Regions from separate parts of the Homo sapiens genome. Here regions 1 and 2 are each linked to region 3. The links are contacts of gene promoters, found by promoter capture Hi-C in blood cells and fetal thymus (Javierre and others, 2016). All regions are on one chromosome and are shown on one strand. Each heading gives the region's core, a stretch centred on a gene start or on the middle of the fragment in contact. The rest is flanking DNA. Distances are from core to core; before and after follow the strand shown.

Evidence for each region. Contacts are between HindIII fragments. The CHiCAGO score rates a contact against its expected background, and 5 or more counts as called.
Region 1: a contact is called between a fragment that was not itself captured here and the fragment with the promoter of GPRC5B in region 3, in 13 of 17 cell types (endothelial precursors, total CD4 T cells, M2 macrophages and 10 more). The highest score is 14.7, in endothelial precursors.
Region 2: a contact is called between a fragment that was not itself captured here and the fragment with the promoter of GPRC5B in region 3, in 10 of 17 cell types (M0 macrophages, M2 macrophages, endothelial precursors and 7 more). The highest score is 15.2, in M0 macrophages.

What each region holds. Positions count from the first base shown.
Region 1 is chr16:19,631,116-19,633,815 of GRCh38, forward strand. It overlaps VPS35L (VPS35 endosomal protein sorting factor like), which reads left to right. Exons shown (of 31, transcript NM_020314.7): 19 at 1,977-2,057. Among named protein-coding and RNA genes, the nearest start is that of VPS35L, 77 kb to the left of the region's middle. The HindIII fragment of the contact is 2,462 bases long and covers 71-2,532 here.
Region 2 is chr16:19,648,634-19,651,346 of GRCh38, forward strand. VPS35L (VPS35 endosomal protein sorting factor like) reads left to right here. Exons shown (of 31, transcript NM_020314.7): 25 at 1,749-1,826. Among named protein-coding and RNA genes, the nearest start is that of KNOP1, 68 kb to the right of the region's middle. The HindIII fragment of the contact is 398 bases long and covers 1,242-1,639 here.
Region 3 is chr16:19,883,487-19,886,186 of GRCh38, forward strand. It overlaps GPRC5B (G protein-coupled receptor class C group 5 member B), which reads right to left and starts at 1,362. Exons shown (of 4, transcript NM_016235.3): 1 at 1,241-1,362. RefSeq lists an enhancer at 1-105 and a silencer at 1,621-1,915. The HindIII fragment of the contact is 5,537 bases long and covers 1-2,700 here.

The sequences.
Region 1 (2,700 bases), core at 52-2,551, 250 kb before region 3:
CACCAAATCTGCCTTGATCTTGGACTTCCCAGCCTCCAGAACTGTGAGAATTACATTTTTGTTGTTTACAAGCTTCCTGGTTTATGGTATTTTGGTAGAGAAGCCCAAACAGACTAAGCCAAGCACACATGCAAAAAAGTGCACGTATCATAAGTTTGCTGCTCAATGAATTTTCACAAGGTATGACCATATAATCACCATCCAGAGTAAGAAATAGGAAATAAGTGACCCCGCAGAACCCCCAGAACTGCCTCTCCCTGTCACAACAGCCTTTGAGGAGGTGAAGGTAGACACCATCCTGGCCTCTAACACCAAAATTGATGTTGCCTCGTTTTGAGCATTAGGTAAATGTTGGTCCATTGATTTTTGTGGTTTTTTTTGGTCCTATTTTTATTTTACATTTTATTATGGAAATGTAAAACATATGCACTCCCTTGTACCCATCAATCAGGAATTATCAATTTATGACAGATCTTGTTTGATTTATATCATTACCATGTCCCCTGACCCCTGGAATATTTTGAAGCATATCTCAGACATTGTATCGTTTCATCTGTCAGTATTTCAGCACACCTGTAAAAATATAAAGATTCCATTGATTGATTGATTGACAGACAGGATCTCACTCTGTTGCCCAGACTGGAGTCCAGTGGTGCAATCGTCACTCACTCCAGCCATGACCTCCTGAGCTCAGGCAATGCTCCTGCCTCAGCCTCCCGAGTGGCTGGGACCACAGGCACATGTGGAGATGTAGAGATGGGGTCTTGCCATGTTGCCCAGGTTGCAGGGTTCACTTCCTTAAACCAAATCTAAATACATTATTCTAAGGAAAAAAGTTACTAATTTTTTTTTTCTTCTGTTTTTGAGATGGAGTCTCACTCCGTCACCCAGGCTGGAGTGCAGTGGCATGATCTCAGCTCACTGCAACCTCCGCCTCCTGGGTTCAAGTGATTCTCCTGCCTCAGCCTCCTAAGTAACTAGGACTACAGGTGTGTGTGACCACACCCCGCTAATTTTATGTATTTTTAGTAGAGACGGGGTTTCACCATGTTGGCCAGGCTGGTCTCGAACTCCTGACCTCAAGCAATCCACCTGCCTCAGCCTCCCGAAGTGCTGGGATTACAGGCATGAGCCACTGCACCCAGCCGAGTTACTAATTATTTAATATCATCAGTACCAGTCAATATTCTGATTTCCCCAATTGTCTCATTTTTTTTAAGTTTATTTGTTGAAATCTGGTTGAAAATAAGGCTTCTCCATTGCAATAGACATTTTAGGATACTTTTGATGTATAAGTTCTCTCTCAAACTGTCTCCTTCTCTCCTTCCCCTTTCTTTCCCTGTAATTTATTTGTTGAAGAAATTGGGTCTTTTGCTCTATAGAGTTGCAAAGACTGGATTTTTCCCATTGCATCCTTGTGATGGTGTCTGGCGTGCTCTTCTGCCTTTTGTATTTTCTATAAATCAGCAGTTAATTATAGAGACTTAAAAGCCATTCTTAGCTTGTGGGCCTTATAAAAACAGGCCCTGGGCTGGATTGGGCTGCAGTTGGCTGACTCCTGCTATAGGTGACAAAAGTGAACAGTGAGCAGTTAGGTCAGACAGCTTGTAAGGGTGAGCCTGCAGTCTTCCGCAGTGCTTCACTGTTCTCTCTGCAGGCACCTGAGGGAGGGCCTGGGACAGGCAGGTGGAGAGAGGCACGGCCGATTCAACCATCACTCTGGGAAAGCAGAGACAATGTAAAGCCCCAGAACTTTTGAGAAGAGCGTTTAGTCCTGACTAGGTGTGGGGCTGTGGTACTAGACCGGGTGATATGAGTGAGATTTCCTCCCTTCCGTTATTTTCAGCAGAATACTGAAATTGATTTCCTGGAAGGTGTGTGATATATTCTGAATACGTTAGTCCTTTCCCCCAGGAACATGGTCAGCAGTTGCCATACAGTGTCTAATTCAGGTTTGGTTCCTTTTTCCTGCTTAGAAACGAGAGGTGAATACCGTTTTGGCAGATGTCATCAAGCACATGACTCCAGATCGTGCATTTGAAGATTCCTACCCCCAGGTAACAGATTTGCATTTCTCATTTCAACATTGTTAGGAATTTTGTTCTGTTGAATTAAATAGGCGTGTTGTATGGGTCAGGCTATAAAGGCACATAATCCTGTGTTTGAATCATAGCTCTGCCATATCCTAGCCATGTGCCCTTTGATCAGTTACTTAACCTTGTTGTGCCCCAGTTTTCTCACCTGTGAAATGGAGATAGTAATAGTGCTACCTGAGAGTTACTGTGAGGATGAAGTGAAGCCCTCACACAGTGGCCTGGCACGTGGTAAATGCTCAATAAGCGTTGTCTTCATTGTTGTCACCAGTAAGTAAACTGCGAGTATTTTTAGTTAAATCAACTTTGTTTTTTCCTTTTTTTTTGAAACAGGGTCTCGCTCAGTCACGGAGGCTGGAGTGCAGTGGTGCGATCACCGCTTGGCACAGCCTCGACTTCCTGGGCTTAAGCATAATTTTTTTATGTGGAAATAAATTTAAGCTTATTGGAAAGTTAAAAGAAAGCTCAAAGAATTCCTATTATTCTTTAACCAGATTTACTAGCTGTTAACATTTGTTTTTTTTTGTTTTTGTTTTTGTTTTGTTTTGAGACGGAGTCTTGCTCTGTTGCCCAGGCTGGAGTGCAGTGGTGCGATCTTGGCTCATTG
Region 2 (2,713 bases), core at 191-2,690, 230 kb before region 3:
GAGGCTAGCAGATCACTTGAGGTCAGGAGTTTGAGACCAGCCTGCCCAATATGGTGAAATGCTGTCTCTACTAAAAATACCAAAGTTAGTCAGGCGGGGTGGCAGGCACCTGTTGTCCCAGCTACTTGGGAGTCTGAGGCAGAAGAATCGCTTAAATCTGGGAGGTGGAGGTTGCAGTAAGCAGAGATCGCGCCACTGCACTCTACACTCTAGCCTAGGCAACAAAGGGAGACTCCATCTCAAAAAAAAAAAAAAAAAAAAAAGTTAGGTTCAGACAACTTAAGTATTTATGTCTAACAACTTGACAGCCATTTGAAGAAAGTATATATATAAATTGAAAGAAAAATAATACTTTTTTTTCCTTTTCTTTTTGAGCTGGAGTTCTTGCTTTGTTGCCCAGGCTAGAGTGCAATGGTGCGATTTTGGCTCACTGCAACCTCCACCTCCCGGGTTCAAGTGATTCTCTTGCCTCAGCCTCCCGAGTAGCTATAATTACAGGCACCTGCCACCATGCCCGGCTAATTCTTTGTATTTTTTAGTAGAGATGAGGTTTCACCATGTTGGCCAGGCTGGTCTTGAACTCTTAACCTAAGGTGATCCACCTGCCTCGGCGTCCCAAAGTGCTAGGATTACAGGCATAAACATCAAGCCCTGCCAATTTTTTTCTTAACCATAATTAGTAATGATGGGTGTGTACTTATGAAGCATATCACAGCTTCATAAAATTTTGGAGTTAGATTGGTGATGCTATTCTTATTTCTTGTTTTACATTCACTGTTTTTTACATTTATTCTTGCACAGCGATTAAACTTGCTTTTGATCACAGTAGCCACGAAAAACAAGTTTTACAAATATATGATGTGGCTATAAGGGATGTAAAGCAGTCCATCATCAAATCAGCCTTGCACCAGTGCTTTTTACAACGTGCAACAAACAAGTATTGCTGTTTACAATGTGCGACAAACAAATATTCCCTAAAAAACGGTGGCGCCCCTGTGAGTTTGCTGCAGCACCCCAGGGTGCCATGGTGCACCGTTTGGGAACCACAGGTCCAAACTTTTTATATCTGTGGAAGGGTTCCCTAAGGCTCTTTCATTATTTCATGTCTATTCAAGGAGAATAACTTTCATATGTATTTGTTTGCTGGTTAGCAAGTTATTTAGCACAACTAAACTTAAGACCTAAATTTAGAAACTATCTGGAAATCAGGGGAGGTAATAGTATCCACCCTGGGATTATGAAGCTTAAGTGAACCAATGAATGTATAGCTCTTAAATAGTGCTTGGAACACTATTAGTGATGATGTGGCTACTATCATTATTGTTCTTATTGTTGGTACTGTATAGCTGAATGGTGTGGTCTGATTGTCTAAATGGTGTGCTTTGGAGTTGTCTCTTAAGATTTCTAAATTCTTAAACTTTGGTGTGGTAGGATTTCTGGAAATGGAGTAAGTGAGCCCCAGCTATTCATTAAGCCAGAAAATGGTCACTAAAATGCTGATCAAAAGGCATGACTGACGTAGCCAACACTGCCTTTTGTTCTACCCTCTTGGAGATGTTTGCTCAAGCCATGATTGGATCAGGCCTGATGACCCCTTTGGCATTTCAAGGTTTAGTGCTAACCAGTCTTGGTCCTAGAAAGCTTGTTCTCATTGACCTGTATGTAGTTAATGTTGAGATCTCTATGGAAGACACTCATCTGAATCGGCCATCGCTTCATTACCATTTCTATTTTATTAATAAATTCAGAGTGTGAACCGGTTGGCAATGGAGACAAGAAAAGTAATGAAAGGAAATCATTCCAGAAAGACAGCTGCATTTGTCCGGGTATGTTCTTAAGATAAGGACTGTTGGACCTCGAACTCCAGTGGGCTGTTTAGTTTGCAGGTTACTAAATTACATTTCCCAGAAAAAGATGAGTATGTCATGATAAGAATGGTTTAGTATTGATTTTTCAGATTAATTTTTCCCTGTATCTATGGGATGAGCCATTTTCTAATGTTTTCAAGAGAAATGGTTAAATGAGTCTGAATTTTAATACGTGTTGTGGGGAAGGTGAATGAGCGATGGATCTGCATTTTTATGTGCCAGCTGAATTAGCTTTCATTTTCTCTAATATACTAATATAAGACATATTTTATAACATTATAAAATATAAAATAGTTTTCTAATATAAAAATATGTATAATAATATTGTTCTTGTAACTGAAAGGCCTTTTTTCCTCTAGATAATAATGATGCCCAACTTTGTTTTTGTTTTTCTTGAGACGGAGTCTTGCTCTGTCACCCAGGCTGGAGTGCAGTGACGTGATCTCGGCTCACTGCAACCTCCGCCTCCCAAGTTCAAGCGATTCTCCTACCTCAACCTCCTGAGTAGCTGGGATTACAGACGCGTGCCACCATGCCCAGCTAATATTTTTGTATTTTTAGTAGAGATGGGGGTTTCACCATGTTGGCCAGGCTGGTTTCGAACTCCTGTCCTCAAGTGATCTGCCCGCCTCGGCCTCCCAAAGTGCTGGGATTACAGGCGTGAGCCACCACACCTGGCCTGATGTTAAACTTTGAAAAATCATTTTCAGCTTCTTGAAGCTGAAAATTTTATCAGATGTGATGCTGCTCAAAATTTATTTAGCTATTCATTCATTTATTTATTTTTGGAGACAGGGTCTTGCTCTGTCACCCAGGCAGGAGTGCCGTGGCACCATCATAGCTCA
Region 3 (2,700 bases), core at 112-2,611:
CGAGTCCCCACCGAAGAAACTTCTGAATTAAGAAGGTTCCTTGGCTGAAGTGCCGGGGTTTTTGTGCCAGATCCCTCCCCCACTTCTCTTGTCTTTGCGGGGTCCCCCAGGGCTTTCTGGGCTCTGTTCAGGTGCCCCCCGGCCTGGTGCAGTTGGGCGGCCAATGTGGCGCGTGGGCTGGGGCCCCAGGCGGGGACGCCGCTGCCCGCCACACTCCAGGGGCCTTTGTCCGCGCTCCAAGGAGCCGCCCCCTTAGCGAACGGGGGACGGAAAGGGAGGACTGGCTAGGCCTGGGTGTGACAGAGCAAGGACGGAGGAGTGAACCCGCTGCACGGGGGAGATTTCTGGGGCAAGGTCGTTGGCCCCTTCCCAGGCTGTTCAACCGGCTGCCCGGGGCCAAGGCGGGTGCGGGCTCCTCCCGCGCGCTCCCTTTTCGGCCTAAGCGCTAGGGACCCCGGGATGTGTGGGGTCCTTGTGGGGCTGGAAGCCTGTGTCCCCCAAGGAGAGGGGACCGAGAACAGGTCTAGTCCTTATCTCCAGCCTAGCCGCCTCTTCCAGAGGTCCAAGTGCCCCCTGTCTGGAAGGGAAACGCCACTGCCCCCCCCGCCATTGTATGCAGCCGCCCCCTCCTCCCCACCCCTCCCCGTCATTCGTCCCCAGCCCAGGTCTCAGCTCTGCCATCTCCCACCGCCGTGTCCCCCCCTCCCCTTGCTGAGTAATGCGCACTCAAGCCGGCTGCGGGCTTGACCCCCAGCCCCCGCGACAGGTGCGGCTGTTCACCCCCAAAGTCCAGCCCTTGTGCCCCCGGCTGCGTCTGCCCTGTCCACAGTCAGCCCCCAACGCGGCCCCAGGACCAGCCCGCAGCTCCTCACACATGACGAGTCACTAGGACACGGCTGGGCTCCTTTACCCTCCCAGCTGCCCTTCACCTGTGGTCGCCCCCACACCCTCCTGGGAGACTTGGATCTCTACCTGGTCCGGGCACAGTCTCCCTCCCCCCGTAAAGGTCCCCAGATCCTCCCCTCCCCCGCCCACCCCTCTACGGCTCTGCTCTCGTCGCACCGTGGTTCCCCTCGCCCAGATTCCACATCTCCCCCAGCAATAAACTCCCTGGCTTGGGTTGGGGGGGCGCTTAGAAAAACACAAGAAGCGGACCCCCCAATTCTCCCAAATCCACGGCGGGAAAAGTTTCTGGGGTCCCCACAGCGTCCTCCACTGCATCGGCGCAGCTCGCACTTACCGACCCCCGCGGCCCCGCAGCGCCGACGCTCCAGCTGGCCTTCGGCCCGAGTCACATCTCTGCGGCGCGGCCGCGGCCCCCGCTCCACGCACGCCCGCCTGCGGGTCCAGCTTCACTGCAGCGCCTGCCAGAGTCGCTGCCGCGCGAGGCGCCCCCTGGCCCGGCCCGCGCTGCTGCAGCGGCCGCGGCCCCGCCCCCGCCCCCGCCCCCGGCCGGCCCCGCCCCCGGGCCTCCGAGCCCCACCCCCGGTCCCGCCGGCGGTTCCGCGCGGGGCTAGGCGCCGTCTGCATGCACCCCCGGAGCCCAAGCTCGTAGCTTCTAGCCCGGATCTCAGAGACGATTCCCCCGACCTCGTGCCCCCAATTCGGGGACATTCCCCCCACAACGTCAGTGCGCCCGTAAGCAGTCCAGACGAGCCGGGCAACTCCCCAGGGTAGATCCATTTGCGGGAACACTCCCCTAGCCAATACACTTACCGAGGGAGGTATCGCGACCCAGGGGTCCCAGCGCGGAAGCCTTCCTGCCCCCAGGCCACGCTCCAAGGGGGGTTCATAAGCAGTAACTTCCCCGAAACACACCAGCACCAGGTCCAGGACGCAGAGAGGATCGATCCCGCCCGGTGCCTCTCGAAGTCACCAACGCCCCGGTATACACCTAGGCGCACACACACCGCTAGGCCTCCTCCAGGCAGGTTCCTCCTGGACACACTCTTCTCTCTCCTCACTGCCCAACTCCCAGATGTCGTTGTCCGTTTACGCACACTGGGACCAACACCCGCTTCCTTGGCCCCTCGAAACACACACGTCCAGTCGGTGCACCCCTCACGTGGGTCCCTACGCAGGATCGCCACCACCCCTACCGCACACATCACCCACGTACGCACATGTCCACTGCCCTTCAGGGCTCACACACTCAGCGGCCCGGGCCACTGGCCGTGCGCTCCGCAGACGGTCAGGGCACAGCCCGGACGCGTGTCCGCTGGGCGGCCGTGGGACCTGCTTGAAGGAGGGGTCCGGGGCAGCCGTCTCTGAGTCCCCCTCACCCCGTCCTAGTCCTCAGGCCTCTCCGAGGTCGCATTGCTTCGACCAGGCCTGGGAGCTGCGCTCCGGCACCCCATATGGGGCTGGTTCCCTGGGTGACCTTCAGACCATCAAACCCTGGCAGTCTCAGGTGGCCCCCCGCCAAAGCCAGAAACAGACCTTTGAGCAGCATCCCTTCCCTGCACTCCAGATTCTCAGGGTGAGATTTCCTTTCTCCCTCCGCGGTGCGCCCCCCAATCTCTACCCCCGTCGCCGCAACCATCCCAGCCACATAAGACCAAAAGGGATAGGACGGACCCCTGCTCCCCTCTCCCGGGGGCTGCAGGAAGGGGAGATGCAGAACACCTCCTTCTGGGAATAGTGGCAGCCCCTGATCTTTGGGGACCGTGGCCCTTCCAGATACTCCCATCCCTCCCTGCC